Regions from separate parts of the Homo sapiens genome. Here regions 2, 3 and 4 are each linked to region 1. The links are contacts of gene promoters, found by promoter capture Hi-C in blood cells and fetal thymus (Javierre and others, 2016). All regions are on one chromosome and are shown on one strand. The core of a region is centred on a gene start or on the middle of the fragment in contact, and the rest is flanking DNA. Distances in the headings are between cores, read along the strand shown. Region 1 holds the start of GAB2 (GRB2 associated binding protein 2). Region 2 overlaps PAK1 (p21 (RAC1) activated kinase 1). Region 3 overlaps RSF1 (remodeling and spacing factor 1). Region 4 overlaps RSF1 (remodeling and spacing factor 1).

Region 1 (7,996 bases), core at 3,097-5,596:
GGAGTAAAAAATCATCCTCTGAGTTTAGTGACCTGGGTATCGCTGGTGCCTTTGTCAGAATAGCTTTGGTGAATAACAAAGTAGGTTTCCACTGGAGCCGACTGAGAAGAAGGTGGGAGAAAGGAAGACTGCATAAACCACCACCAAGTTTATCCCTGAAAAAAAGTAGGTAGTACAGAGAGGGAAAGAAGTTGAAGATGTGTTACAGGATAAGAATTATTTGAGTAGGGAGGAGAAGATATGATTCAAAGTATAAGTAGCAGGATTAGCTCAGATAGAAGTGGCACTTCATCTACTCTAAGAAAAGGAAACAAGAAAGGAACCATGCAGGCTGGGCGCGGTGGCTCATGTCTGTCTGTAATCCCAGCACTGTGGGAGGCCGAGGCGGGTGGATCACCTGAGGTCAGGAGTTCAAGACCAGCCTCACCAACGTGGTCAAGCCTCATCTCTACTAAAAATACAAAATTAGCCAGGTGTGGTGATGCATGCCTGTAATCCCAGCTACTTGGGAGGCTGAGGCAGGAGAATCGCTTGAACCCAGGAGGCAAAGGTTGCAGTGAGCCCAGATCGTGCATTGCACTCCAGCCTAGGCAACAAAAGTGAAACTCTGTCTCAAAAAAAAAAAAAAAAAAAAGGAAGAAAGAAAGGAACTATGCAGATACAAGTAAATTTGAAAATGTGGCCATTCATCGTACGTACAGACAACTACTCCCTCATCATTTCAATTTTCCTTTGAAGGAGAAGGCAAAGCCATTGCTAAGACTGAAAGACTGGATTAATTTTTTTTTCTGTTTACTGGATTTTTATTCCAAGCACCTGATCCAGTGCCTGGGACATAGATTTAATAAGTATATTTAATAAATATAATGGAAATAAACAATTACTGTTACCTTAATGCAGTAGTTCTTTACAATTTGTGCACAACTTTCTTCAAGTTAGCCACTAGGGGGTAGTCTGCCAATCTTATTCCCTCAATCTTTTAATCCAGTGAAATTGATAGAAAACTACAATGCAGTGTAGGTCATATTAATAAAATGTTTTTCCTCAAGAAAATTCTGTTTAATAATTATATACATGTACGTGTGTATGCATTTGCATGCACGCGCATACACACACAAATACACTGAGGCACGATGGGAGGGTTGTTACTTCTGCCGGCCTCCCACTGCAGCCATATCAGGATGCCCCAGAGGCAATAGTCAGCATTTTCCAGAGACACTTTTTGCAATTTCTCCAGGGCACTCAGTAAATAGCAGATAGGTCTCTTATACTTATACTTAATTAACTAGAAAAGGCTGATGAAAAAAATCCCTGAAAACTAATTGCTCAAACATTTGCCTTTGCTTCTTCTAAGATGTTTTTCCCCTCTACACCTTCCCGTCTTTCCGAATTAAGTAAGTTTTTTTGTTTTTCTTTGAAATGGAGTCTCGTTTTGTCACCCAGGCTGGAGTGCAGTGGTACGATCTCGGCTCACTGCAACCTCAGCCTCCCGGGCTCACGCGATTCTCATGTCTCAGCCTCCTGAGTAGCTGGGACTACAGATGCCCTCCATGACGCCCAGCTAATTTTTATATTTATGGTAGAGACGGGGTTTCACCACATTGGCCAGGCTGGTCTCGAACTTCTGACCTCCAGTGATCCACCCGCCTCAGCCTCCCAAAGTGCTGGGATTACAGGCATAAGCCACTGCGCCCAGACTTCAAATTAAGTCAGTTTTTTAAAAAATCGTTTTAAATAGTTATAACCTAGTTCAACTACTTTTTCCCCTTATCACATATGCTCGATGTATTCTTATAATGAGGATTTCTCAATCTACAATATAACACGCCTATGATGTATACCAGAAGCAGCAGCTACTTTGGGGTAAATATACAGCCATGGGGCTGGGAAATACTTTCCAAGCTTGGTTCTAATGAACTCGGGCCTCTACTGAAATAAGCAAACTAGCAGAGTTTTAACTTACAACAGGATGCAAAAATTCTGAATACCCCAAAAGAAAAGTAGATGTAAAGGCATACTGTTCCCCAGAGGCTTAAGGTTACACATATCACCAGTTTCAGTTAGGGGGAAACTGAACTTCCGAAGGGGCAGAGGCTTCCAGTCATGTAAGTGAACACATCACATCCTAACCTAAGAAAAGCTGTTACTTAAAGCTGTTAAGGTCTGACACCTGATGGGCTGAAGGTACATGGAAGATGGGAAAGAGAGGCTAAGGCCATCATACGACTAGATTCGTTCAAATCAGTGAAAAAGGTGCTTGACCCAAATGCCTCCAAACCTGGTTATTTTGAACTAAAGTTGTTTGGGAACAAAAACACCCAAGAAATGGGTCATAGAGTCTGGGTGAGAGTTCAAGGAGCGATAAGTCAAATGTAGATACAGTGTCATACTGTTTGCAAATTGTTTCAAAAACAACTTTCAAGGTTCTTTAGTGTATAGTGTTCAAACTTGAAAATTAAGGGTCACTTTTTTTTTTTTTTTTTTTACTGTGGACACTGTATTCCACTAGCTTGTATGGAAATCTATTTGTATAGATAATTTTTGGAAGCTCTTCGGGACAAAGTTTTTAAATTATTTATAAAATTGTTAATAGTAAATCACTGCTCCTTAATCCTAATTAAAATATTCAACCTTCCTAACGAACTGATACAACCCTGAAGAGGAAAAAAGTTTATTTCTTAATAATTATACTTTGGCTACATAGACACTCCTAAAAATGAGCTTCCGAACTGAGATGAACAATTCACTGCTTCATTCCTCCTATAAATCCACGTCCACTTTCAAAACTCATGTGCTAAATCCTTAGATTTTTTTCCCCCAGCAAACATCTACCTAAGAGCCTGATTTCATTGACACACACTTGTACTCCGCAACAACAACACTTCCTTTGAAAAACAGAATGTCACTTCCTCAGTCCAGAGGCCAGAAGTCCCTTGATTCTGATCTGGGGAGCCAAGACAGGAAATTCTGGTAGGCTTCTGCCTCTCCCCCCATGGACAGCCACTGGTGCAGCTGACAGAGGGCAGGGTCTATTCCGAGCTCCCTTGATGCACTGCAGCTGGAGGCAACGGCTCCCTTCCAGGCTGTGGGAGTGATCCCGGAGTTCGGCACCACAGCCCGTTAAACAAGGGCATTTCATGGGAAACGGAGAGGGAGCAGATGAGAGACCTTGAAACCTTCCAGCAACCTTACCCCCACTTCCAAACTCCCGCGACTACCCCAAGACCATTTCGGCCAAATCTCAGTAACTGGCACCATCTTGTACTTTGACCTCACCAGGCAAGGCATCCTCTGGGGAGAGGGGTTAAAAAAAAAAAAAAAAAAAGCCAGAACTCCACGGCTCAGCGCCACGCTGTTCCACCTCCCCCAGGCTGCCAGTTCCCCACCTAGAGGGAAAAGGCTGTTCCAGCGATCTCAGTAAACACTGTCGGTTGGCAACACCTGGCCGCGGAGAGCCTCGATCTCTCCCGACCCCAGACACCCGGGAGCTGCCCGGTCCCAAACCCGGGCCAGCCACGGGGACCAAACTGCAGTGTCACACCGGGGTCGGGGGGAGGCGCCTGTGAGAGACGAACGGAATAAAGGGAAAGAAGGGGGACAAACAAATGAGTCACTTAATACAAGGGCTGCACATGCCGCTGACGCTGCCGGTGATGCAGCCGCGGACGGAGGGAGGCCGGCGGCCGGGAGGGGCAGGCGGAGAAAGGGAAGGAGAGGGCGTGAGGCGCTCGCCCTTTGTGGGGCCGTCCGCGCGGCCCCACAGCCTACGCCCCCCTTTCCCGCCCTCTCCCCGACCCTGCGGGCTGAAGCTGCTCGGGGCTGCCGCGGAGCCCCAGCCCCGAGAGTCAACTCTCTCGGTCTCCAGAAGCCATCAATACAAAACTTCGACACTGTATTTAGTTCACGAGCAGACCGGCTTGGGAGGCGCCGCAGCCGCACCCGCCTGGCGGAGCAGGAGCCGCAGCCTCAACCTGCCGCCCGCCCCGCCCCTCGGCGGCCCACCTGTGACAGGTGTGCAGGTGCCCCACACGCCCCCGGCCGCTCCTCGCCCCCGGCCCCCCGCGGCTCCGGGCCCGAGCTCCCCAGCCTGCCGCCCCTCCGGGAGTCCCCCGCCCCTCCGCAGGCCCCGGAGCGCCCCCCGCCCGCCCCTGGGCGGCCGCGCCCGCACTCACATAGCGCCTCAACTTCTTCTCGGGAGGCGATTTCCTCAGCCAGCCGGTGCACACCACGTCGCCGCCGCCGCTCATGCTGCCGGCCTGGAGCCCCCCGCCGGGTCGCGCGGACGAGGGCGCGGGCTCGGGCAGCTGGGGCAGCGGCCGGCGGTGCGCAGCTCGCGGGAGGCCAGGGGCGGGGCGGGCGGCCCGGCGGGGACTAGGCGGCGCGGCGCGGCGCGAGCCCGGCAGCCTCGCGCGCGCCCGCTCCCCCGCCCCGAGCGCGCGCAATCCGCACTCTCCGCCCGGCCGCCGGGGGAGCAGCTGCAGCAGGAAGGCCGGCTCGCTCGCCACGCCCGCTCCCGCCGCGCCCCCGAGGCCGCCGCGCACGCGGACGCGGGGCTAGGGACCCGCGAGGATACAGAAAGCCACCGCCGCCGGCGCGCCCCGGAGTCTCGCTTTCTCCTGAGGCCCCAAGCCGCGGGCGCGGAGGCCAGGGAGGCGACCGCGCCCCTGGCGCTGGCGGGTGTGAGGGGAAGGGACTGCGCGCCCTCGGTCGTCGATCGATTTTTCACCGAGCGTCGACGGGGAAGGGATACTAGGGCTGCTCACATTTCCGATACATTCTGCGGGTCAGGTTCCGGCTGAAAGGAGGGACCCCTTCCCAGCAAGAAGCTCCTTAACTCTGGCGTCCCTCGGCGGGAGGAGGAGACGGACCTACTACGCGCCGGAGCCTTTGCTTTTGTAGCTTACAGGATTGTCTTCAGTATTGTTCCTATTTTATGGACAGCCTAAGGGCAAGGGCTTGTACAAAGCCGAGCCAATTTTCCAATTCAGGTGTGTGGGGGAGGAGGGGTCCCGGTCATCTGCTATTCAAAATGAGGGCATTGCCTTAATGGGATCGACCTGGGAGCCTCTCATTGCCTGGAAACCAAGTCCAGCTGACTCCCTCCTACACTGCCTCTGGGAAAACACAGTTTAGTATAGAAAATTCGCATGATTTGTAGAATGGAAGAAGCAAAACTAGTCAATGTATTTCATAACGAATTGGAAGGCAAGGTCAAGTGCAGAAGAACAAGAAATTGGGGTCCAAATTCCCCAACGTTCCCGCTCATTGACACAGGCTATGAGACCTCTGTTTGTAAATATAATGGTATCCCAGATGTACGTGGAAGCACACAACCCCAGCACTTCAGCGGGAGGGGGGAGAAAAAAATCTTTTGTACGAGCTCTTTTCTCATCACAAAGTGTCTCTCTAAGCAGCATTAAAAGGCAGGTCCTCCCTAACTTCTCTGATAAGTGGATAGTAACCTGTTTATTCAATGGGGAACCGTGCTGTGTGGACAGATGAATTGGAGAAGCAGCATCTTGCAGTGCCCCACACAACCTCAGACTAAAGCTGTTTTGTTTATTTCTGTCTCTGTGCAGCTGAGTTGTTTCAAGCAGTTGGACATCATTTGGTCCAAAAGATCTTGATTGGGTTGGGGGAAGTTCACCCTCCTCAATTTGGAAAAGCGAATCCCCTACCACGTACTTAGCTCTTCTAGATACCCTGGGAGTTTTAGCGGTCAGTCCCCTGGATCTAACATTTCACTGACTTTCTTCAATATCCAGTGTGCTGCTGGATGGGAAGTAAAGCCAGAACTGGTAGGCTGGGACCACAGCTCCCTTAACCTTACAATTTAGGGATCCTTAAGTCACGTATGAAGGGCCACCACCAGAATGATGGCCATTTTAACTTCTGGCTTTAAGTACCTTAAATCCCTGTAAGACAAACAACACTTAACGTCTGCCAAATCAATCAGGAGGCGGTGACTTCCAACCAAAATAAAACTATCCTGACTTCATTCACATCTGAGTCATGGTGCCAAGTCCCAGAGATTGCAGAGTCGGAGAAATCTGCATGGTTTGGCTGCAGCTGAGGTTTGTGATGCAAGTCAGGCATACGTATGCCCTATCTTCCCCCAGAAGAGTAGTCTTACGTATCCTTTGATAGTTACATGATTCAATACACAGACTGGAAGACTGTTTAGCAAGAGTTAGTGGGGGTTAGGTCATATTCTGCCAGAAATTCCTTAAAGTCTTATTTTGTTTGCTTAGGAAAAGATGGTGTTATTTACAATTTCATGTGGAAATGGAAAAGTTTGATGTTTCTTGTTTGGCCAATGGCAGGAGGGACCTTGAAATATGAATACAACAGTCACCAGGTATCGACTTTGGGAAGGGTTCTCTGAACACCCCCATCTTTCCCCAAAGGTTAAAGAAAGGAGCTTTTTTTTTTTTTTTTAGACGGAGTCTCGCTCTGTTGCCCAGGCTAGAGTGCAGTGGCGTGATCTCCGCTCACTGCCAGCTCCGCCTCCCAGGTTCACGCCATTCTCCTGCCTCAGCCTCCCTAGTAGCTGGTACTACAGGCGCCCGTCACCACGCCCAGCTAATGTTTTGTATTTTTTTTTAGTAGAGACGGGGTTTCACCATGTTAGCCAGGATGGTCTCGATCTCCTGACCTCGTAATCCGCCTGCCTCGGCTTCCCAAAGTGCTGGGATTACAGGCGTGAGCCCGGCCGAAAGGGGCTTTTTTACTGTGCTCTTCAGCTGGACTCCCACCCTGCGTCCCTCTTGCTGCTAGTGCCCATCTCGGGCTGTGCATAGGAAGCAAGACTGCTGCTCAAGTCCCTGGCTGCACCCTGGAGTGGCTCAGTCTTTTGAGCCTGAGAGGCGTGCCAGGCCTGGAAACAACCCTTGGACGGAAAGTTCCTGTCTGGGCTTTTACTAAGTCCTCTCCACTCCCTGCTGTGTGTGTCTGTTTAAATGGTCCCCGGTTTTTGCTGGGAAAAAAATGGAAAACAAATCATTTGAATGATTTACATGAAGATAGGCGCCATCTATCGGAACCAGTTGGGGTGACAATCCCCCCACCCCCAAGCCCTGAGCGGACATGCATCACTAGCCCATAATTTAGGCAATTTTGTTTAAAGACCACTGGTATTTCCTGGGGGAATTAATCGCCGGCTCCAAGAGTGCTTTGGGTCATTAATCTTATATTCTTATTAAATTCTCAGGAAATGACTATCTTATGAGGAGGGAGCACTGCAGAGATTAGAGAAATGCACACTGGGAGAGCATGGGTACCACTTTGGCCCCCGCTCATAGCTACTCCCACTCCCCACAAAGCCTGGGGTTCTAAAGGGTGCACTGTGGCTTTGAGTGTCGTCAGGGACATCCGTCGCTGCATCCGTGCCTGTCTGGGAGTTGAGGGTTTGTGGCCAGCGGCAGGTGCATGGCTGGTGGAATGCTTTCAGAAACGGGTTGAAGGGCTGGAAGGAGAGCTGTCCTCAACTGCACACCAAGCTTGTGTGATTAATACCACCCACGCCAGGCCTGACGTCAGTGATTGGACTGGGGGTGGGGATGGATGTTTGTGTGCTAGCCCTTCTGCTTTTTCTCCCCTTCAATTTAGTTGACAGGTTAATTTCAGAACTGAGTGCTGCTTACGAAGGTCAGTGTGACCAGCTGAACCACCTCAGCTGGTGTCTTTCAGGACACTCATCTCTCAGGCATATAAAGGTGTATGCTTCTTTAACCCCTAGTTACTTGAGGCCCACATGGTTCCCTATATCAAATTACCTTAACTTACTCAAGTCAACTCTGGGCATCTGGTTGAGGATGAGATCTGGAAGTGGGAATGGGGTGGGGTTAAAGACCTAATTGGGTTTCCTCCCTGTCTGTGGCTAATAGTCTGAGAGTTACTTGACACTATACCCAGTGGGAGACATTTTGAAAATAAACTTTTGGCCGGGTGCGGTGCCTCATGCCTGCAATGCCAACACTTTGGGACACTGAGGCGG
Region 2 (7,996 bases), core at 3,634-6,133, 970 kb before region 1:
TGGTTTAACTTCCTTTGAAGTTTGTTTCTAGTTAAAATTGGCAGATTGAAAACACATTTACTTATGTTCCCTCCCAAAATCACTCTAAAATGATGGTAAAGCTATAAAAGAGGTATGAACCTCAACAATAAAGAGAATGGGTGAGGGGACATCAGACGGTAAGAGATTTCAAAAACTGTTTAGAATAATAGTGAATAGGGGAGCTGTGACAAAAAGAAAAAAAAAAAACAAAAAAGGAGAGCAAAAGAAGCTGTAATCTAGAGCCTTGCATAGTCCCTGAGCAGCAAAGATGTGTGGTCCCTGTACAACAGGATCCCTTCACCTGGAAAGAATCACTGGATTAAAACACATAAAGACATAGGAAGTATAAATCATTTACCCAAAACCACACAGAGATAAGAAGAGCTAGATCCTATTTTTGTTACCTTTCTATAACACATCCGCTATTAGCCAACTTAAAAGAATATAGGATGAATCAGCAGCCCATGCCACAAAACAAGGAGGCAGAGGTGTTTCCCAGGGTCTACATTTTGGCCTTCTTTACCAACTCCAAAAAGGTCCTTTGTGTTTGGGCTCTCCCTGGTGAGAACCTGTTCAAATAGTTGGGATAAGAATCCCATTATTCCCATTGTCTGATTCTATAGCTCTGAAAGGTAGGTTACCAGCACCTAACAAAAATAGGACAAAACTTGGAGGCGAAAGATTTCATAAGCACTAACACTGTTTCAAGTCAAAGCTGAGCTCATCTATCTTGCCCGTGGTAGTGTGAGAGAAGCAGCTTTTCATCCCTTTTTAGAACAGAACATGTCCAAAGGTAGGTGTTGTTATATCTGCTAACAAGATGAAACAGATTCTTTTTTTTTTTTTCAGGGGAAGTCTCGCGCTCAGGCTGGAGTGCAGTGGCACGATCTCAGCTCACTGCAACCTCCACCTCCCGGGTTCAAGCGATTCTCCTGCCTCAGCCTCCCAAGTAGCTGGGATTACAGGCGCCCACCACCACGCCCAGCTAATTTTTGTATTTTTAGTAGAGACGGGGGTTTCATCATGTTGGCCGGACTGGTCTCAAACTCCTGATCTCAGGTGATCCGCCCACCTCAGCCTCCCAAAGTGCTGGGATTACAGGCGTGAGCCACCATGCCCAGCCAAAATAGATTCATTTTAAAATGCCAAATTACAGAATTGCCTACAGTTGCAATTAAGGCATTAATAACTCTAGGGCTATTTCTTAATACACAATTATGAGAGTACCACAGCTATTTGCTCCTCATTCCACCACACTCCCATTTGAACTCTAGTCCATCACTGCATTAAACACATCTACATACTCAATTTGTGTGTTTTTGATGTGCACAGAAAGAATACTGAATTAGGAGTCAGAAGAATAGTTCCAAACACAACTCAAGCTTTGGAATCAGCAAGCTTGGGTTTGAATCCCAATTCTGTCTGAGTTACCAGCTGTGAGATCAGAAATTAATCATTTAATCTCTCTGGACCTCAATTACCTCATATGTAAAATGGGAGACTCATATGGGAAAAAATGGAAAAATATGTCAGAGACCTGTTGTGAGGATTGGGAATATTTATTAGGCAACTTGCACAGCAGTAAGTTACTCAATGCGTGGTACTTTCCTCTTTTATTGACCACCTGGTATTTGCTACGTATTTCTAACCTTGGAAGGGTTGTTTTGAAGAAGTGTTTAAGGAGAGGTAGAATATACAAATTACATTAATTACAATACAGTACAACACAAAATATAACACAGTACAAATATAATATAAGAAATGATGTCATAGCCATTACAACAGAGTAACACATAAACACTGAAGGAAGAAATACTAATTCTGCCTGGCACAGGAGGACAATGTCAGAGAAGGCATCAGAGACAGATATTTGAACTTGGTCTTGAAGGTTGTTGAGTGTAAGGACAGCAAGCAAAGGAAAACATGTTAAACAAACAAAATGCTATGAGACCCAAGTTAAGGGAACATGAGAAAGAATGTTTGGCTTATTTCAGCAATAGTGTGAAAACTTACAAAGAAGTGATAGGTTATACAGAACCAGAAATAAGATTAGCATGAGGAAGGGACTACCCATGGGAAGTTTTTTGTGGAAAGCAAAGTGGTATAATAGGCAAAAAGAGGTAGTCATTTGAGAAACTCTTGAAACTATTTAGCTGGAGAAGAACAGTAATAAAATCACTATTGTGATTATAAAGAATTGTCATGTGGAGGAAAGGTTGAATTCATTTTGTCTGACCCAAGGGACAGATTTAAGAAGGTGGATAGAAATTAAAAAATGATATTATACAAAAATGGCTAAGGAATATTAATGATATACAGGGTGAGTGTTTGAAATTTAAAAGAAAATGTCCCTCCTGTACGTTTTGAAATTAACCCAGAAAGCTCGAAAGAGAAACTCCTTCAATCTTAGCCTGGGCTAAGAACCCCAGGCTTTCTCTTCCTCTTTGGGGACAAGACTTGACTTGATGGGCCTTTGGTGCAACCAGGTTTGAGGAAGGTGCTTCCACCACTTCCTGAGGCCTTACACAATTCAATTCAACCTCAAAAGGGAACACTAGCCCACACAGAAACAGCTTAAAAAGAAAACTAAAGAAGGCAACGACTTTAAAGGAAACTAGGCAGTGCGCTTAAAGAGAAAAGGGCAATGGGAACAACATGAACATCAGAGGCATCAACTATCTGTTCTCATGTTAATGAAGGAAGGAAGAGCAGCAAGACCATTCAGTTCAACATCTCACTGTACACATAGAGAAACTGAAGCCCAGAAAGGGGATAGGGCAGGTAAAGCCAGGCATGAAAACAACTTAACATAAAACGTTAGAGTTCAGGCAGACTCTTTTATCATCTCACTTTTCCTCAAAATAACACAGTGAAGGAGGTGTTATTTTCCCAATGAGACACGAAGATCTTTAAAGCATTACAATGTTTGTGTTAGTTTTCCTTATGGGTTGCTGGAATGAATAATGCTTTCCTTTTCAATCCTATAGGTAAAAAAAAAAAAAAAAAAAAAATCACCCTAAGGACTGGAGCTTCTCCAGGGAAATAATGTGGACTAGGAAACAGTTTCTCAATACCCTCACCCCAATTCCCCTATTCTATCTAGGACTTTCCAATGTATTACATATTCAATTTTTTAAAAATTCTGTTTTAGCCCCTGTGCTGAGAACAGGGAGCAAAAATTCAATCAGACATGCATCTTCAAGGAGCTTCCCATTCTGAAAGCATAGACAAGCATGACAATCAATGATTATCTTTTAGTCATGAAGACTTGGTTTCAAATCCTGGGTCTGCCCTTTACTAGCTAAGGCAAGTCATTTCCTTTCATCTAAACTTCAGACTCCTTTTCTGCGAAATTGAAGGCAATACCCTCAGTCTAACTCAAAGTATTAACTTGTGAGTATTTGGAAAGATAATTATTTAAAGCACCCAGCAGAATGTCTGATCCACAGTATATATGCTCAGAAGGTATTTACTGAATTAATGGCTTACATAAAAGTATCAATTCTAGGGGTAGAGTTGGGAAGAAAGAACATCCCAGCATTATGTTTTCTCATAACCCTGGACCCACTGAGAGAATGATGTTTACCTGATCATGTGGGTTTCATGCTCCCCAACTCTTGTGCATTAAAGCCACAAATACCACCCCAGCATTAAAAACCCGAAAGAACCTGGCAGGTCCCACACAATGACTAGGGATGAAGGAAATAGCTGTCTGGCCTGACCATATTTGCAAAGGGAAGTAGGCAGCAGAGCAAGGCCTAAAAAACCCAAGACCTGAAATCCTGCAAATCCTTATGATTAAAGACTAGAAAATCCTTGTTAAATACAAATATCTCTGCAAGGTGAAGCTGGGGTGAAGAATTAGGAGCCATTAGGGATTTATGGAACTCTATGGGCCACAGAAGTTCTCCACTTTAGATAGATATTATTTCAAAAAAATACATTGGCATATCTACTGTGGGTCAGGTGTTGAAACAGCAGAGGACTTAGACATGGTTCCAGTTTTTGAGACACTTAGAATAACAGAGACAGAGATCACAATGAAAAATGGTTTCACCACTAAGGTCCTGACATACTGCTATTCAGTGGGCTGCAACTGCCTGCAGAAGTGACCCAAGTTTCCCAGTTACCAAGTTTCCTCCTCCTCTTTTTCAATCCATTTACCACAAAACCTGCCATCTCTAGAGGCCCTTCTCTGGGCAGAAGAGCTTGCCTATGTGCCACAGGAGTTTAGAATGGAAATCTGACTAACAGCAAAGCTCATACCTTACACCACCTATAGCCTCTGGAATCAAACTCCACAAAACACTTTAAAACCACAGAACAAGAAGTTCTGATGTATTTATTTTAAGACTTTAGGGAAACCATTTGAGAAGACAGAACTAAGTCTTCTGAGAATATCTCAAACATTTACTGACTACCTATTATGTTCCAGCCACCACTTTGATTCTTTATAATGGGGTTCAAGACATGCTACCCCAAAATATGACATCTTAGCATATGAGAAAACAGCAGACGCAAGAAAGTATTCTCACTCTCAGCTTCCCCTCACCCTTCTCCCCTGAAGCAGGTAATCAGATCCTCATTCAAGAGGTACCCTCCTTATTCCCAGAGGAAAGCCTCATTTTTCTCTGAAGACACAGGGACATACAGAAAAATCTGAACAAACCAGCCTTGCTAAGTTCCCTCCAACCCTGATCCTATTACCATTACATCATACCGCCTTTGTCCAATCATATTTCTCCAAGACTACCCACTTCTTCCATCAAACCTAAACATAAAAATACACAAGTTTGCCTGTTTCTTTGCATCCTCATTTCCTTATGAAGGCTCCTATGTCATGTAAAACTTGTATTAAATATATTTGCTTGCTTTTCTCTCGTTAATGTCTTTTGTTTTTTTTTGTTTTTTTTTTGAGACGGCGTCTTGCTCTGTCGCCCAGGCTGGAGTGCAGTGGCACGATTTCTGCTCACTGCAAGCTCCGCCTCCTGGGTTCATGCCATTCTCCTGCCTCAGCCTCCCGAGTAGCTGGGACTACAGGCGCCACCACCACGCCCGGCTAATTTTTTGTATTTTTAGTAGAGACGGGGTTTCACCATTTTGGTCAGGCTGTCTCGAACTCCTGACCTCAGGTGATCCGCCTGCCTCGGCCTCCCAAAGTGCTGGGATTACAGGCGTGAGCCACCACGCCCGACCTCTCTCGTTAATGTCTTTTGCTACAGGAGCCTCAGCCATGAACATAGCAATGGGAAAAATATTTCTTTTCCCCTACATTTATATATATTAATGTCCTCAAAACAACCCTGTAAGAGAGCTATTATTGTCTCAATTTTACAAAGAAAAAACTACGTTCACAGAAATTAAGTGACTTGCCCAAAATCACACAGTTAATAAGTGATGGAGCTAAAAATTCATAAGTAAATTGGCCACGTCCACTTTAAAGTCTTCATTTCATTTTTTCCCCTGCATCTCACATTTCATTCTAATGATAACGCTGTGAGGCAGAGTATCAACATAATTTCATTTTATAAATAGGAAACTGGTGCTTAAGGAAGTGATATTACTTTCTGAGAAACAGGTCAGTAAGTAGCAGAGCCACAGTTTGTACCCAGATCTCATGCCCTCAAATCTGCACTCTTTACACTACCCCACAATTCCTCTTACACTTGCCTTGCAGAGAGGTGTAGTAAAAATATACTTAATAGGGAGTCAGAAGTGCTGAGATGTGGTCTTGACTCTGTAACTAACTTATATAATATTGAATGAGCTGCTTTTCTTCTCTTGGCTTCAGTTTCTCATTCATAAAATAAGGGTGTTGAATTAGACATCTCCTAGGGTCCCCTTCAGCCAGCAACCCAACTAGTCTATGAGAAGCAGTTTCTCTAATTTCCTTGCCACTCAAGCAGTAACTTTCTAAAAGAAAAAAAAAGACTGGTTATTTACAGTATAGACGAAGGTGGAAAATGCTCAGCACCAAAGAGTAGAAATTACCCATTCAAAAGGCATATTTACCTTCCTCAAACACCCTAGATATAAAGAAAGAAGAAGCCATAAGCCACCTAATAACAGGGTTGGCACATCTAATAACAAGCCAAGTAGGAGTAAAGAGTGTGTTCATGGTAGGGCCCTTTTCCCTCTGCTGGATTCCTAACACTTCTATTCACTAGCTTTCTCTCTTCCTAGGTTGGCACATCAGCCCTGCCTCACAGCAAATCAGGCTTATGACTTTAACTAAATCCCATCAGATCTAAACAATCTACAAATGACTTTTTACTAGTATTACAGAACAAAAAAATGAAAGCCCCAGATGTAAATTCATCCATGCCAAGAAATAGGAAGAAGGAAGAAGTGGGATATATAAGATTTTGGAGGCCAGGTGCGGTGGCTCACGCCTGTAATCCCAGCACTTCAGGAGGCCGAGGCAAGCAGATCGCCTGAGGTCAAGAGTTCAAGATCAGCCTGGCCAATATGGCAAAACCCCGTCTCTACTAAAAATACAAAAATTAGCCAGGTGTATGGCGCACGCCTATAGTCCCAGCTACTCAGGAGGCTGAGGCAGAAGAATCGCTTGAACCCAGGCAGCAGAGGTTTCAGTGAGCCGAGATCGCGCCATTGCACTCCAGCCTGGGCGAAAAGAGCAAAACTCAGTCTCAGGAAAAAAAAAAATTTTTTTGGAAAAATTATTTCCCTGTCTGTCCTAGTTTCTTTATATATAAAGCAAAGGAGAGAGTCCAAACTGATTCTAAACACCTTTCCCACTGAAACTTAACATGAACTTGTAAGTATTCTATATTTAGAAAATGTGAGATATATTAAAAAAAAAAAAAACAAGGGGGAAAAGGGCATGGTATTACAAATTTTAATTACCTCACAGGAGAAAATAAAAAGGAATGAATTATAGTGCCAGGGAAGAACATAAAATATGTATGGTCACAGCAAGCTGAATACATATTAGTTATAAGAGCAAAAGGAACTGCACTATCCCTGTAACAGCCAAATAATTCATATAATGCCCCAGGGTAAGACTGCAGAGCAGAACCCATGTTCATGCAGTTAAACCAGAGCTGATCTGAATATGATCAAAGATCCAACACCAGGCTGGGTGCGGTGGCTCACACCTGTAATCTTAGCACTTTGGGAGGCTGAGGCAGGAGGATTGCTTGAACTCAGGACTTCAAGACCAGTCTGGCAATATGGCGAAACCCCATCTCTACAAAAAAATACAAAAAAATTAACTGGGTATGGTGGCACGTGCCTGTAGCCCCAGCTACTTGGCAGGCTGAAGTAGGAGGTTGAAGCTGCAGTGAACTATGATCAGGCCACTGTACTCCAGCCTAGGTGACAGAGCGAGACCTTGTCTTGAAAAATAAATAAACAAATAAATAAAATTCATACTACCTTAGCCAAGTATCATCATTCATATTCTGTAGCTCTTTACCTATTAATATGCTAAATTACGTACTAGGCACTTCCACATATATTTGTCCATTTAATTGTCTCAACACCCCAGTGGTTATATTCCCTATTTTACAGAAGGGGAGCCCGAAGCTCAATGAGGTAAAAAGACCAGGATGAGAATCCAAACTCTGGCTCCAAGTTCAATATACTCTGTCCCTATTATAACCTATCTCCTTCATTGTACAAGTCCCTCAGACACACATTATCCGGTTTTATATCTCACAACCACCACCACCTTGTGAGCTAGACATTCAAGATTCCTCATGAACTGGTCCCTATCCGTCTTTCCAGTTTTGAAATGGATGCTGTTGGCTGCCTACCCAGCATCCATTCCCTTCTTCTCCCTAACAGAGCCCAGACTTTTTTTTTTATCAGGTATTCATCCCTCATCAAACAGTTTCTAAGGCAGTTCTCAAATTTTAGCATGAAATCAAAATCATCTGGCGGGCTTGTTAAAACACAGATTCCTGGGCCCCACACCCAGAGTTTTTGATTCATAAGTCTGAGATGTGGCTCC
Region 3 (7,996 bases), core at 3,782-6,281, 650 kb before region 1:
TCTTAGTTCAGCTGTCTTAGGGAATTACTAACAATAGATGACAAATAGATGCCAATGCTGACTGATTTGTGTAATAATGTAGTCTGCTAAGTCTAGGCTTAGCAGGAAGGCTTAGGTTGGTAATGTCTGCTATGAGCAAAGCAACAAGGCCTAGCAGATGCCAGATACTTGCTCTGGATTTAAACAGAATTTTATATTAATTATATTCCATTTACTTCAAAAGGAAAAGAAACAGCTTTCAGTAATACATATGTACAATGATGCCACAAGGAGAAAGACGAGAGCACTGTAAGAGCCATGTAACAGGGAAGGTAAAAATTCCATCAGAAAACTAGCTAATGATTATAACTAATAAATAAATATAACAAAGTTAAGCTTACTGGCAGTCAAGGGAAAGAAAACTAAAATTGTCTCAGTGATTAATTGATCCATCTAATACTGATGCATAAAAGATTAAAAGAAGCCGCCGGGCACGGTGGCTCACGCCTGTAATCCCAGCACTTTGGGAGGCCGAGGTGGGCGGATCACGAGGTCAGGAGTTCGAGACTAGCCTGGCCAATATGGTGAAACCCTGTCTCTACTAATAATACAAAAAAAATTAGCCAGGCATGGTGGCACGCACCTGTAGTCCCAGCTACTCAGGAGGCTGAAGCAAGAGAATTGCTTGAACCCAGGAGGTGGACGTTGCAGTGAGCCGAGACAGCACCACTGCACTCTAGCCTGGGTGACAGAGTGAGACTGTCTTTAAAAAAAAAAAAAAAAAGATTAAAAGAAGCCTTCAAGAAACTTACAATATACACAAAAGACAAATGTGAGGAACATTTCATCAGTGATATTTTAAAGTACTGGATTCACCAAGTCCTGGATTTGAATGCTGGCTCTGTCGTTTTTAGCAATGTGAGACCAGACAAGTTACTCTATTTAGTTTCTCAAAATCAATTTCCTTGTGAGTAAAATGAGGATAATCAGTATTTTAAAGTTGAGATAATGCAAAGGAAGCACTAAACAGCGCCTGGTACATAATGAACATTCAATATAAAACCATATGACAGTTTCTAAAATAGGGTTAAACATAAATCCATGAAGGAACATCTTCCTGAGAGAAGGACTCAAGGAGACAGTACTACTTGAGCTGAGACCTAAAGGACAAATAAGTTGGCTAGGAAAACAAACTGGTGGGAAGGTACTCCAGGCAGAAGATACCATATATGCAAAAATTCTGAGGAACGAAAAAGATGGCATGTTTCTGTATCAGTGGTCCTCAACCTTTCTGGCATCAGGGACCAGTTTTGCGGAAGATAATTTGTCCACAGACTGGGGGTGGTGGGTGGGAGGGAGATGGTTTGGGGATGATTCAAATGCATTACATTTGAATCAACTAGATGGCCCCATCTGGAAGTGATGGGAGATAGTGACGGATCATCAGTCAGTAGATTCTCATAAGGAGTGCACAACCTAGATCCTTCGCATGTGCAGTTCACGATAGGGTTTGCACTCCTATGAGAATCTATGCCGCAGCTGATCTCAGAGGAAGCAGAGCTCACATGGTAAGGAGAGGAATGGGGATGACCACTATTGGTCTGTGGCCCAGGGGTTGGGGACCTCTGTTCTATATAACAGAGTCTAGGGGAACCACTAAATAAGTCTATGCATACTATGTGAACTAAAGTAAAAATGACAACATCCCTGAGCCTTATTAGTTTCTTACTTGATGTGATCAGGGTGATTTTAAGAATTAAATGAGAAAAGACATGAAAAGTCCTGAGCACAGTGTTAGGCACAAAAGAGATATAACACTTCTGAAATCTAACTTCAGGACTCAAGACTGCTACTAAGTAGTAGCAAAAGAAGAGAATCACATACTTGCAGTCATGTGGATTTTGGAGCCATAGTCTTACTTTTAGTAAACTAATTAAAAATTATGTGTATTATAAAACATAATATCAATTTATGCTAGAGTAATATTTCAGTAATAGAGCAGGAAATTTACAAATACTAGTTACCTTGATCAAATATTTTTCCCATCTGTCTGCAGTAACAGATTTGCCAATTTTCCTCATCAGCTTCAAATGGAGCTCCACCAATTCTTTTGGTACTTAAAAGAAAGAAAAAAAATATCATTAGCCAACAAAATAAAACAATTCTAAACATTTAAGATAATAAAAAAATAATCTTCTCCAACCCTGGATACCTTCTCAAAACAGACAGTGTTGATACTAGCTAACTTTTAGACCTCTGAATCAAAAAAGCCTAAACTACAGCAAGAAATGACCAAAAACCACTTTCTCAAAGACAAGCAAGAATATTCACATTTTCTTTCAAAACACCATCAAATAAAAGTAAAACCTAATATAAAGTATGAACTTTGGTGATAATTATATGTCAATGTAGGTTCATCAATTATAAGAAATGTACCATTATTGTGGGAGCCAACAGTAGAGAAGTTGTATGAGTATGGGGACAGGGATACATGGGAACTCTCCGTACTTGCTGCTTAATTTTTCTGTGAACCTAAAATTGCTCTTAAAAAAATAGTTTGTTAAAAAAAAAAACCATCAAGTAAAAGCACTTAACTATACAACTAAAGTTTGTATTGTTTATCTGCAATAACAAATATTTGGTTCCTTTACTGAGATTTCAAAGACATACATTCATAGAATTAGAAAGGAACCAAGAAGTATGAATTCCAAGTTGACAGATACGACAGAAATTAAACTAACAGTTTCCAAACTGTTTTGGAAAACTCTTCCAATCTATCCCTTGTCTGATGTGTTAAACTTCTCTGTAGCATTTCTATGAATCTTTGCTTGACAAGCTTCATGGACAAAAAAATTACTTACCTTCCATAGCACTTAGTTCTGTTTTCTGGATAGTTCTAATTACTAGAAAGTTACCCTTACTCTCAGTCAAAATCTGCCCTCTGACAACTTCCTCTCCTGATTCTGGCTCTTATTCTCTAGTTTCAATGACAGTACTTTTAATCCCTCTTCTGTTGGAACCTTCAAATATTTGAGGACTGCCGTATCTTCCCTCAGATTCTCTGCTTTGACTGTAAACAATCAGAGTTCCTCTAACTATTATTTAGGCATGGTCTGATTGTATTTAATTACATTAATTAGACCAGAGGGACACATACGGCTGTCAAAATAAGCATTTTTCTTTTTTCTTTTGAAACGGTATCTCACTCTTTTTGCCCAGGCTGAAGTGCCGTGGCACAATCTTGGCTCACTGTAATCTCCGCCTCCTGGGTTCAAGCAATTCTCCTGCCTCAGCCTCCCAAGTAGCTGGAATTACAGGTGCCCACCACTACTCCCGGCTAGTTTTTGCATTTTTAGTAGAGACAGGGTTTCACCACGTTGGCCAGGCTTGTCTGGAACTCCTGATCTCAGGCGATCTGCCCACCTTGGCCTCCCAAAATGCTGGGATTACAGGCATGAGCCACTGCACCAGGCCTAAAATGATCAAATATTTGTAACCTAAGAGAAATTACAGTATACTACCTAAAAAGATCCCATACTCAAATATATTGGCAAAATGCTGGATCAAAAAAAAAAAAGTTGTTTTTTTATCTTTAAACCACAGGACCATTGTCTTATCATTCGCCCTTATGTGCATTGTGAATATCCAAAATAGGTACATAATCTGCAGCGTTCTCTAACATATTTGATCCACTATCTTGTAGGATACAAACACTCTGAGGGACAGGTTGGGAAATGATGACCTAATATTTTTCAGTCATTCTTTCATTCTCTACTAAAGCTCCTTCTGAATTTGAAACAACACTTTGAAATATAAAAACATTCACCCATTCAACTACTTTCAGTGGGTCAAATACTAGTAAGAAAGAAACAGTCCTTCTGTCTTTAATGAGCCTACTTGAGTGAATCTTCATAGCAGGTAGAGTGGTGGGTTGGGGGTGGGAGTGGGGAACAGTGTTCAAAGACAAGTAAATAGACAAATCTACTAAGATGTGAATTATGGGGGGTTAAGGGTGGAATGGAGAAAAGGAGGGAAAGGGCATTGCTTGCACAAAAACAACAGATGCAAATAGCTAAAAAACCAAAAAGAACATGGAACTGGAGGAATGGACATAGATAATTACAGCCTAATGAGGCCAGGCTCAGAAGTTTAGATTTTATGTAAAAGTTTAAGCAGGAGAGTCTGTTGCATTTTAGAAGACCTTAATGATTGAATTGGAGGAAGACAGATTTTTAAATATTAACAAAAGAAGTTTTTATTTGCTTTTTTGTTTTAGGAGGTGGGGTGCAGGGCCGAAGCTAGATATAAATTCAGGAAAACCTCAATCCAGAAGATAGAAGTAGCCTAAACTAAGGTAGAGGTGGTACAGAGAGAAGTGGACAGATCTGAGAAATGTTTAGGAGACAAAATTATCAAAACTTAGTGATTTACTGGTTGTGCAGTGATAAAAGATCTGGGCTGGATTCTCAGCTGCCCCACCTATATAAGGGGACAATGGTTCTGGTCAAGTCCTTTAAACAATGAAGCTCAATTTCTCCATTAAAAAAGGCTGTGTTGGCTATCTCATGGAATTTTGAAACTGTATAGCGTTGTATAAATATAAAATACTTTTATTTCTCTTCTGTTTTAAAACCAAGGTCACTTTCTTCAATTTCTCCTTTTCCACAAACACAGAAGTATTGATGTTCCCCCTTCCCACATCTTAAACCTGCCTCCTATTTCCTCCTTTCCCTAGGACATGACTATACCTTCTCGCATCAGAAAAACAGCTATGGATAGTCTCCTGCAATCAAACCAATCTTCCAAAAAGACTGCTTTCATATCACTTCCCAGTTGGTAAGTATTTTTTATGGCTCCTAAATACCTACATAAACCCAGCCAGATTTCTTACCCTAGCCTCAGAGTCCCAACATTCAGTCTCATACTAACTCTGCAATTCTTCTCTCTTACTTCCTGCACTGAAATCCTTGATTCGAATCATTTTGCCAGTTAATGGTCCACTAAGCATGCTCAGCCCATTACCTATGTGGGCTTTATTAAAGAGTTATTTATTGTTTTCTGCCCACTTGAATCATATTTATCTTTCAATGTCTAGGCAATACAAGTCCCGAAAGTCTCCGTGATAGATTTCTAGTACCAGCAACCTTTTTGTCCCTGGAACACCCACTGTATTCATACTGTCTGTATCACTCATTAAGCAGTTGGCTAAAACCTTTGCACCAGTGTTTTACTCATGTTCCCCACCAGTGTTCTATGCTACACAGAATCATGAAAGATTTTGATACAACTGGTACTATTTTTTAAAAGCCAATACAAGACAAAAATAAAAGTGAATAAATGTTTTCATCCCACTTTACAAATCTACTCATTGTTGATTTAGGCATGTACAAATAGATTATGTATTACTTGATTTAAAAGAGTACTGGCTCTTCTACAGTCAGCACTGTGCAATAGAAATGTAAGGTGAGTCACATAATTTCAAATTTTCTAGTAAAATATTATAAAAAGTAAAAAGAGGTTAAAATTAATTTTAATAATATATTTTATTTAATGCCCTTCATCCAAAATTATATCAACATATTATCAGCTTTTTTTTTTTTTTTTTTTGAGACAGAGTCTCGTTCTGTCACCCAGACTGGAGTGCAGTGGTGTGATCTTGGCTCACTGCAACCTCTGCCTCCCGGGTTCAAGCGATTCTCCTGCCTCAGCCTCCCCAGTAGCTGGGATTACAGGCGTGCGCCACCACGCCTGGCTGATTTTTATATTTTTAGTAAAGACAGGGTTTTGCCATGTTCGTCAGGCTGGTCTCGAACTCCTGACCTCATGATCTCCCGCCTCGGCCTCCCAAAGTGCTGGGATTACAGGTGTTGAGCCACTGCGCCCGGCCAATCACTATTTTTAAAGTATTACTTTCTTTTGTACTAAGTAAAAGATTTTACTTTTCAGACTATTTAAAATACATTGTGCATTTCACATTGACAGCACATCTCAATTCAAACTAGCTACATTTCAAGTGCTCAAGAGCCACATGTGGCTAGTGGCTACTGTACTGGATAGCACTGCATAGTGTAGACCCAGCATGCTTAAAATTAAAATTTATAACCCAACTGAATTAATATTTTGTTACAAATAGAACTGACAAGCTGATAATCTTTAAGTGCACTAGTATAATCTGTCAACTGATAAGAAACAGGCTACAGGAAAATTAATCAACATTATAGTTTATTAAACATTAAAATCACCATACTTTTTATTCTTTAAAACGGCACTGTCTATTAAATAGATTGCTCCAGGATGATCGAAATGTTCTATATCTACACTTTTCAGTGCAGTAGCCATTAGCCACATGTGTCTACTGAGAAGCTGAAATGTGGCTAATGAAACTAAGGAACTCAATTCTTAATTTTATTTATTTTTAAATTATCTTAAATTTTAATAAACACGTAGTAAGTTGCTATGGCTTTGGACAGCTGTAAAGTATCAATCATATATATATTTTTTTGAGATGGAGTCTCGCTCTGTCGCCCAGGCTGGAGTGCAGTGGCGCAATCTCAGCTCACTAGAACCTCCACCTCCTGGGTTCAAATGATTCTCCTGCCTCAGCCTCCCAAGTAGCTGGGACTACAGGCACGTGCCACCACACCTCGGCCTCCCAAAATACTGGGATTACAGGTGTGAGCCACCGTGCCCAGCCATCAATCATATTTTTTAAATACATGATCATTTTCTAAAACACTGACAAGCTCTAAATTTATTTATCACCTGCAAGATTTCTAAAACAGTTTCATTTCCAGAAGATAATTAACTTCTTTCTAAAGATTTACTGATTAGCCACTTCAAGTCAATCCAAAAAATAGTTTTTGTCCTAATTGAACTGAAATATCCTCTACCTTTTCACATGATAAATTTCATAAACAAACCCCCTTCTTTCACAGGGCCTCAGGAGGTGAAAGACTCTGAAGGAGAAAGAAACAGTCAGGGGCTATGTGAATTCATGAAGGGCTGCCAACATGATGTAGGTATGAAGTAGCAGAAAAGTGGTGGAATCCCAGACTACATTACTGATCCAATTACTCAAAGATGTTTTATATTTTGACATTTTTCTAAGCATCTTTCTAGCACCATGTCTTAAAAATGTCACTGCTCCTGCAATTCTATTGTGTTACTTATAATTTTACTTTTTTGAATGGTAGAAATGTACAGCACCTCATAACGGCTAAACACATTAATTCTTATTCTTCAATAAAGTCTTCTACTTAAATTTAGTTTAAGCTTATAAGCAGAGATACAGTTATGGAAACAGTTGACACTTTATCTAGGCCATTGATAAAAGAACATTTATTTCAGACACAGTGATTCAAAGACAAGCTTACAATAAGCTTTTAGTTACTGCCCAGTTTTTAGAAACTCTCTTGGGGGAGCAGTTTTAGCATAATGAGACTGATCCCACAGGCCACTTCATCCTTGAAATCACTGTCATGTATTCATATACCTTATCTTTAAAGAGTTCATTTAATCAATCATCCTAGTTTTCTGAAAAGCAAAGAAACAGCTCAAGACTATGAACTGTAACTTAGACGATCATCTAAAAAGGTATAGTACAGAGAGGCTGGGTGTGGTGGCTCGTGCCTGTAATCCCAGCACTTTGGGAGGCCAAGGCGGGTGGATCACGAGGTCAGGAGATCGAGACCACCCTGGCTAACACGGTAAAACCCCATCTCTACTAAAAATACAAAAAATTAGCCAGGTGTGGTGGCGTGCACCTGTAGTCCCAGCTACTCGGGAGGCTGAGAATTGCTTGAACCTGGGAGGCGGAGGATGCAGTGAGCCCAGATCGTGCCACTGCACTCCAGCCTAGGTGACAGAGTGAGACTCCGTCTCAAAAAACAAAACAAAACAAAACAAAAGTATAGCACAGAGATTCCAGCTAAGTATATGCTCACCTCATTACCATTGTGGAAAAAAATAAATCCAAGAATAACTGTTATACAGGCAGATAAACCAAGGGGTATCTGCT
Region 4 (7,996 bases), core at 857-3,356, 610 kb before region 1:
CAACAGTACTACTACAGGCATTTAACCTATAAAATTATGGTAAAGCATGCATACTACAAAGCCCCTTATTTTTGCATTTTTGTAATCTATTTTTCTACGAAAGATAAGAATGGAGAAGATAATTAAGGTTTAAAGGGGAAGTCCAAAATACAGGAAAATAGGACACTAAAGGAGTGAGATATAGTTATCATGGTGAATACAACTAGGTAATAATAGAAGATAGGGTATAAAATGAAAAGGCCATGAGGCAAAAAGATAGCAAGGAGAAACCAGTTGACCACAGTCAAAATTCATAGGACAAAAAACCTCTAAAATGAGGATTATGGAATGTCTGAATTCAGATGCCAGACCAAGTTAGTGCTGCTGTAGATGGTTTATTTATGGTTCTGATAAACTGGAGGTTGGCAAGACTTTAATGGGAATATAAAGTAAGCTCCATTATACTTCTGATTAATCAAAGTTTTCCAATATTACCATATTGCTATATCCCCAAACTCCAAATACCAAAAGCAAGTTAGAATGGATTATTTGGAATAACTCATTCTACCTAATTTTCTTTTCCTAAAACACTTTTAACATCTAAACATTGAAGAAGTGGCAATTATATTTATTTGCAGAGCCAACTGTGAAGATGCTAAGGACAAAAGGAAAAGAGTAAGTATCAAACTCCCTGAGATATCTAGCATAACACATGCCTAAGCTTCATAACCAGTACTGCACTTTTGCTGCAAAATACACTGATGACCAAGGCATTTAATCCCACTTACTAGTAAGCTATTATCTAGTACATTCTTTCCCAGTCCTGTGTCCTCTAAGTAACCTAAGTAAATCTTTTAAGTTCTACCTTTAATAACTACATCCTTTCCCATCTGAGTACACGGCATCACCATTCATCCAACCTTACCCTCCCCTAATCAGTCCACTTGGATAAGACTTTGAGGCCAGTATAGCAGCAATGTTACAACAACTCTTACCCTCACTACCAATTACCATGTCACATGGCTCCCATCCTGGCATTGCCTTATGACAATTAGGCAGAGGTAGCCATGGCTACTCTTGAATGAAAGAAATTTAGTTCAATATAATGTCATCACCTTGTTAACAAAAAAGCTTTTAGACTCACCTAACCCAAGAGGAGTAATTAATACTAAAACAGTTGGATGTAAAATTAGATCAATACTGGGGAGACTACTGTTCCACTAAGTTTCATTCACAGGACATTCTAGGCATTTAATTTGTATTATATTGGTTCCTTTTTATTTTTATTTTTTGGGGGGGAGATGGGTGGAGTCTCCCTCTGTTGCCCAGATTGGAGTGCAATGGCATAATCATGGCTCACTGTAATCTCTGCCTCCTGGGTTCAAGCAATTGTTGTGTGGCAGCCTCCTAGGTAGCTGGGATTACAGGTGTATCCCACCACATCCAACTAATTTGTATTTTTAATAGAGACCAGGTTTCACCATGTTGGCGAGGCTGGAAATTTGTATTATACTGGTTCTAAATGTATTTTCAAAAACAGAGATCATCATCTGATAAGACTTCCATCTTCATACACTGGAATAAAGATCAGTAAATTTTTTTCTGTAAAGGGCTAGACAGATAATAAGTTCTTCAGGTTTTGGGTTTTGTTTTTTTCTGAGACAGGGTCTTGCTGTTTCACCCAGGCTGGAGTGCAGTGGCATGATCAGCCTCAACCTCTGGGACTCAGACAATCCTCCGAAAGTGCTTGGATTGCAGTATGAGCCACCATACCCAGCCCAATACTTTAGGTTTTGAAGTTATATGTTCTCTGTGACCATCACTCAACTCTGCCACAGTTGTGTGAAAGCAGCTACAGACAACAGAATGTAAACAAATGAACATGGCTGTATACCAGTAAAACCTTATTTACAAAGATAGAGAGGACAGGCTGTAGATTGCCCACCACTGTACTAAGCTATCACAGACTAGGCTTTAACTTCAAAGTTTTAGAGCAGAACATGGTCCTATAGTAAGTTGAGGAAAACTATTAATTCCACAAACATTTACTACATATTTGCTATTACCCACCAATTGCTGGTGATAAAATAAAGTAAGAAACCCTGTCCTCAAAGAGTTTACCATCTTGTAGGCTAGGCAGTAACTGCAAAAAGTGTTATGAGTACTGTGGCATAAAATCTACAAAGTGTACGTGCAGGGTAAGGAGATTGAAGTGGTTAATTTAACTTGAGAGACAGAAAGAAGGAAATTTTCCACAGAGCATTTGATGCTTAAAGAGCAGACTAATGACGGGTACAGTGAGCAGGCAAGGGAAGGAAGATGGGGATGGTATATTCGACTCAGAGGCAGGAGGACGAAGAAAAAGCATAAATGTAAAACAACCTTTCACATCTTCAGAGATGTAAAAGCAGTTTGGCGTGATTAAAACTAGCAATGAGAACAGAAAAGCAAGGTTGAATATAAAAGGGGATAAACAGACTCAATATAACTTGGTATCAAAGAAAGTGTCAGAGGCTAAGGTCTAGGATGCCTCCTTGGTTTCTGATCTGAGTGACTTGGGTAGATGATAGTAACATTCATTTAAGAGGTAATTCAAGATTAAGAATAAATAAATAGGCTGAGCTTGGTGGCTCACGCCTGTAATCCCAGCACTTGGGGAGGCTGAGTCAGGTGGATTGCTTGAGCCCAGGAGTTTGAGACCAGCCTGGGCAACATAATGAAACTCTGTCTCTACTAAAAATACAAAAAATTTTTAGCTGGGTGTGGTGGCACATGCCTGTAGTCCCCAGCAACTTGAGAGGCTGAAATGGGAGGATCGCCTGAGTCTGGGAGGTAGAGGTTGCAGTCAGCAGAGAACAAGCCACTGCACTCCAGCCTGGGTGACAGAGTGAGACCCTGTCTATAAAAATAAGAGTACATAAATACAAGCAGAAATTCAATTTTCCTTTTAAAAAGCCTCTTTAGAAATCTAGTTTTAAATAGTTTTTTGGTGATTATCAAAGAAATGCACAATTAACATAGAAAATGAAATGTGAAAAAATATAAGAAAAACCAAAGGGAAAAAACTGTATAATCCTACTATTCAGAAAATGATTAAGATAAACATGTACAAATACTGGAGAATAAAGCTTAGAGTCTAAAATTAAATACAGACTCAACCTCCACTACGAAAGCTTTCTGGAGGAACTCTTGCTTACATGAGCCATATATACATTATATACTTCATGTTGCTCTTCAAGCAATCCTTGTTCAACTACAGGAGGCTGAAGCCTGGTCTGTCTGCTGTCAAGTTTTGCCCTCATGCTCTTCTTTCTTAAAATCAGTTTGGGCTGGATGTGGTGGCTCATGCCTGTAATCCCAGCACTTTGGGAGGCCGGGGCAGGCAGATCACTTGAGGTCAGGAGTTTTTGAGACCAGCCTGGCCAACATGGCGAAACCCCATCTCTACTAAGAATGCAAAAAAATTAGCTGGGCGTGGTGGCGGGCACCTGTAGTCCCAGCTACTCAGGAGGCTGAAGCAGGAGAATCACTTGAACCCAGGAGGCAGAGGTTGCAGTGAGCTGGGATCGCACTACTACACTCTAGCCTGGGTGACAGAGCTCCATCTCAAAAAAAAAAAAAAAAAAAAATCAGTCTGGTGTAGTTTCTGCTTGCTGTGCCCTCACAACTCATGTTCTTACACTGAAAAGATCACCTTAATTTTGGACAAACATTCTAAGCATAACTTTTAATTCTTGCTCTTTGTCCAGCCTCTAAACTGGTAAGATTAAATAAACACTGCAAATTCCCCACCACCTCATCCCTGCTTCTTCTGTTTATTAACAGAAAGGCACAAATTATGAAATAATTTGCTAAAATCAGAATATCTTACACAACTTACTTTGAGAGAAACCAAATTTATTTGATAAGTATTTTTAAATGAATATTAAAACTTACTTAATTCTGAGCAAAACATGAAAGTAGTCTAATGATGAATGGGATCAAGTCTGCCATTTATAATTTTTTTTTAACAACTGGTAATCAATTTATTAAAATAGTTGACTTAAGCATCTGCAATGGTGACTTTCACCTCAACTCCCGGCTCAAACTGATGGAAGCAATCTGCTTAACAATCTCAGAAGGACTGTGCAAGTCAATGAGTCGCTTGTGGATTCTCATCTGGAAAGGATCCCACGTCTTAGAACCTTCACCACAAGGACTTTTTCTGTAGTGATTCTCAAAGTCTTGGTAGGTATTCGAACTGGTCCTTTCACTTGGAGATTCTTTGCCTCTGCTCCTCTGATGAAGTCAGCACACACCTTTTCCAGGGATTTTATGTTGCGGCTCGTTAGAGTGATTCAATTTCGGTGAACTGCCACCTCCAGCTCCACGCGTGTTTTTCCGGTAACCTTCAAAGCCATAGCTGCTGCACGGCTTCCTGACCGACTTGTTCCTCGGCGAGAGCGAACAGTAGTGAGTAAGGAGCAGGAGCCTGCGGATCACAGAGCCGCAGCACCTACCACCGCGACTTCCTCAAAGAGCGGCCATTTATAATTTGTAAAAGGACACACACACACACACACACACACACACACACACACAGAGATAATGGAGAATTAATACAATTTAACACATCCCTAAACTCAGGATAAAAATAAGAAGTGGCTGGGCACAGTGGCTCATGCCTGCAATCCCAGCACTTTGAGAGGTGGAGGTGGCTGGATCACCTGAAGCCAGGAGTTCAAGACCAGCCTGACCAACATGGCAAAACCTGTCCCTACTAAACACATAAAAATGAGCCAGGCATGGTGGTGCATGCCTGTAATCCCAGTTACTTGGGAGCGTGAGGCAGGAGAATCACTTGAACCCAGGAGGCAGAGGTTGTAGTGAACCAGGATCGCGCCACTGCACTCCAGCCTGGGCCACAGAGCGAGACTGTCTCAAAAAAAAAAAAAGTTTTGGCCACAAGTGGTGACTCATGCCTGTAACCCCAGCACTTTGGGAGGCCGAGGTGGGAGTATCACCTGAGTCCAGGAGTTCAAGACCAGCCTGGACAATACAGCAAGACCTCATTCTCTACCAAAAAAATTTTTAAAAATTAGCTGGGCATGGTGGCATGTGCCTGTAGTTCCAACTACTCGGGAGGTTGGGGCAGGAGGATTTCTTGAGCCCAGGAATTCAAGGCCCTAACTCTGGGGGGGAAAAAAAAGGACAGAGTCTCGCTCTGTCACCCAGGCTGGAGTGCAGTGGCACCATCTTGGCTCACTGCAACCTCTGCCTCCCAGGTTCAAGCGATTCTCCTGCCTCGGTCTCCCGAGTAGCTGGGATTACAGGCGCCTGACACCAGGTCTGACTAATTTTTGTATTTTTAGTACAGATGGGGTTTCACCATGTTCGCCAGGCTGGTCTCAAACTCCTGACCTCAGGTGATCCGCCGCCTGGGCCTCCCTAAGTGCTGGGATTACAGGCATGAGCCACCGTGCCCAGCCGAAAAAATACATTTTTATAAAGTAGGCATTCACCTCAGAAATCCTTTGATAATGTTTGAAGCAATACCAGTTTAATACTGTTTAAGTCAGTTTCCTCTATTATTGTGGTTCAATTGTTTAGTGACTTGGAAACCCCCAAAATATGGTTTTTTTTTAATTTCAGTGCCTCCTTTCTTCCTAACACACTGGTGCAAACCTCATACAGAGCACACTGGAGCTAGCAGGCACTGCACTTTATGGCATACAAGTGAAAGAAAGCGTAAAATGGAAGAAGCAGCCCCTTCAAATGGCTAAAGGTGGTGTGACTTCAGACATGAGGATCAGGAAATGGAAGTAAAGGGGAAGTGGAAGAGTAAGGAGAGAATGCCTGCTGTTCTCTCTAGTTTAGGCATCAATTTGCCTGGAGGCACTGCTTGTGCCCAACAGTACAAGAGCGAGCAAAAATGTTTAAAAGTTAGCTAATGCAAACCTAACGTACAGATATGACCATATAAAGCTAAACAAATTAAAAATCAAAGCCTGCTAGAACATATGTAATTACAAAGTGTACATTATAATTGCCCATATAATTAAATGTTTTTAAAAGAAAATAGAAAATACCCTAATACCTTTTGTGGGATCTACTCTACAATAAAAACAGAAAACAAACAAAAAAAGCCAAGCATAATATATTAAGACTATACCCATCAGGTAGAGTAAAATTTTATTAAATCTAACAACACACATAACTGTCTTCCTTGAATACATGATTCAGTTTAACATGTACTTTAGGCCTGAATTATTCTTTTTCATATTGCATGTGGTCATACATCTCACCATAAAATTGTTAGATAATTTTAGTTTACAACTGTAGACTAGAATGCACGGACTATTGCTCCACTTGATAAAATCTCAGAGAAAAAAAACTAAGTCTTTGAATGATGTCATTAGTTTCAAGCTCAGTTTAGCTATTTCTTACTAGATTAGAAATTTCTTTTAAAAGGCTCATGTTTAATGTTTTTTTAAAAAAATAATCCCCACAATATTTACTGTAGCTACATCTGTACATAGCAGATGCTCAATATATATATTAAGTGAATAACCTCACTAATAAATGCTTGCTTACCTTCTTACCGGTGAGGTCTGTTTAAGAACTTAACAAAACATCTAAATTTAAGGCAAACTTCTTAATCATTAAAAGACTAAAAAGTAAGCCAGTTTGCATTAACAGGCTCATGTTAGCCAGACAAGTCCCTCTGTCTCCATTACCTCCTAGTTCCTAGGACAATGACAACAACCTCCCTCCAAACCTCCGTAACTTTACTCTATGACATATCGAAAATGGTGGAGATGAAATCTGTTTCTCTCTTTTCATCTAATAAGTGCCCTAAAGAATATTTGCTTTTTCAAAGGCAGAAGAGACACAACTAAAAAGTTTCAACCTAACCAGGCTCTGGCCCCAGCAATACTACTATTAATGTATGTATGCCCTACCAGTGTCTACCACTGTAGACTCATGCAACCTCTAGTACATGCACCTGGTAAAATCTTTTGTTTAAATCAACACATGTGGCCCCAGTTACAGTAATCACCTTTCCACTTTATCAAATGCACCTAAAAATATATTGTTACACACAGATCAGTTACAGTACCAGTAAGAGAGACCATAGTAAGTTATAGTTACAATTCCAGTTAAAAAGGCATTTTTTTAACTTTGATATTTTCACTTCGAGTTAAAATTCAAATCATTAAATGCAAAAATGAAACAAAAAACTAATGGCTCAACTTACTTAATATCATACAACTAATTCAGCCAACCATAGTATAAACTATGAGAATCCTAACACATTATCTGTATTTACCTTAATAAATTTATTAGATATATGTAACATCTCAACCAATATCCAGACTGTTTTTAAAGAATACAGTAGTATAGTTTCCTCTTGAAAAGAAATATTCTCTGCAGGAGAGGAAAGATACTTAGGAGCCTTGGGTGTCAGGGATCTCACAAAGTCAACGTCAACTTTATCCATAACCACCATCATCTACCTCCAGTTAGGAGAAACCTGGGGAAGTCCACACAAAGCACAGAATTGGGAGGACTAAAGTAGACTGCAGGGAGAGGAGGATAAAACACCACCTTCATTTGGCACATCCTTTTATAACTAGTATCAACTATAAATCTAAATTTTTTGTTGACAATTTCAGCATATATGTGGGCTTTTCAAATAAGAATTTGACTAACACCAACAGTTAGCTGTATACACTTGAAATCTCTCTCTGTAGCTTGATTTTCCTCCTGAAAAATAAAGGCAATGACACAATAGTCCCTTCTTTCTTGCCCCGAAATTCAATGATAGTTTCTAGAGCAAAGGTTCTCAAACATTCTAGCTTCACGGCACCCTCAGTATCTCAGTAATTTTCTCACAGCAGCCCTAGGCCAGAAATAATAACACTTCCACTTATTAAGTAGTCAGTAGCCATGTGAAAAAATAACCTAGCTAAATTTCAACAAATAATGTTTTTACTTCATTCTTAACCATAATTACTTGTGAAATGTGTATTACTGT

The links. Contacts are between HindIII fragments. The CHiCAGO score rates a contact against its expected background, and 5 or more counts as called.
Region 2: a contact is called between a fragment that was not itself captured here and the fragment with the promoter of GAB2 in region 1, in 1 of 17 cell types (neutrophils). The highest score is 5.9, in neutrophils.
Region 3: a fragment that was not itself captured here is called in contact with the fragment with the promoter of GAB2 in region 1 in 1 of 17 cell types (erythroblasts); the score reaches 5.7 in erythroblasts.
Region 4: a contact is called between a fragment that was not itself captured here and the fragment with the promoter of GAB2 in region 1, in 2 of 17 cell types (naive CD4 T cells and naive B cells). The highest score is 5.5, in naive CD4 T cells.

Annotation. Positions count from the first base shown.
Region 1 is chr11:78,413,474-78,421,469 of GRCh38, forward strand. It overlaps GAB2 (GRB2 associated binding protein 2), which reads right to left and starts at 4,347. Exons shown (of 10, transcript NM_080491.3): 1 at 4,173-4,347. The coding sequence starts at 4,247. RefSeq lists enhancers at 254-383, 3,333-4,087, 7,023-7,072 and silencers at 2,950-3,244, 3,707-3,836, 3,907-4,006, 4,117-4,736. The HindIII fragment of the contact is 5,597 bases long and covers 1,901-7,497 here.
Region 2 is chr11:77,446,682-77,454,677 of GRCh38, forward strand. All of the region lies in intron 1 of PAK1 (p21 (RAC1) activated kinase 1), which reads right to left. Among named protein-coding and RNA genes, the nearest start is that of PAK1, 23 kb to the right of the region's middle. RefSeq lists enhancers at 2,034-2,804, 2,384-2,813. The HindIII fragment of the contact is 6,933 bases long and covers 1,418-7,996 here.
Region 3 is chr11:77,762,595-77,770,590 of GRCh38, forward strand. It overlaps RSF1 (remodeling and spacing factor 1), which reads right to left. Exons shown (of 16, transcript NM_016578.4): 2 at 2,004-2,095. It also overlaps the pseudogene LOC124902804. Among named protein-coding and RNA genes, the nearest start is that of RSF1-IT1, 27 kb to the left of the region's middle. The HindIII fragment of the contact is 4,436 bases long and covers 2,814-7,249 here.
Region 4 is chr11:77,809,298-77,817,293 of GRCh38, forward strand. The region is part of intron 1 of RSF1 (remodeling and spacing factor 1); the gene reads right to left. It also overlaps the pseudogene RPS20P27. Among named protein-coding and RNA genes, the nearest start is that of RSF1, 7.4 kb to the right of the region's middle. The HindIII fragment of the contact is 1,997 bases long and covers 1,109-3,105 here.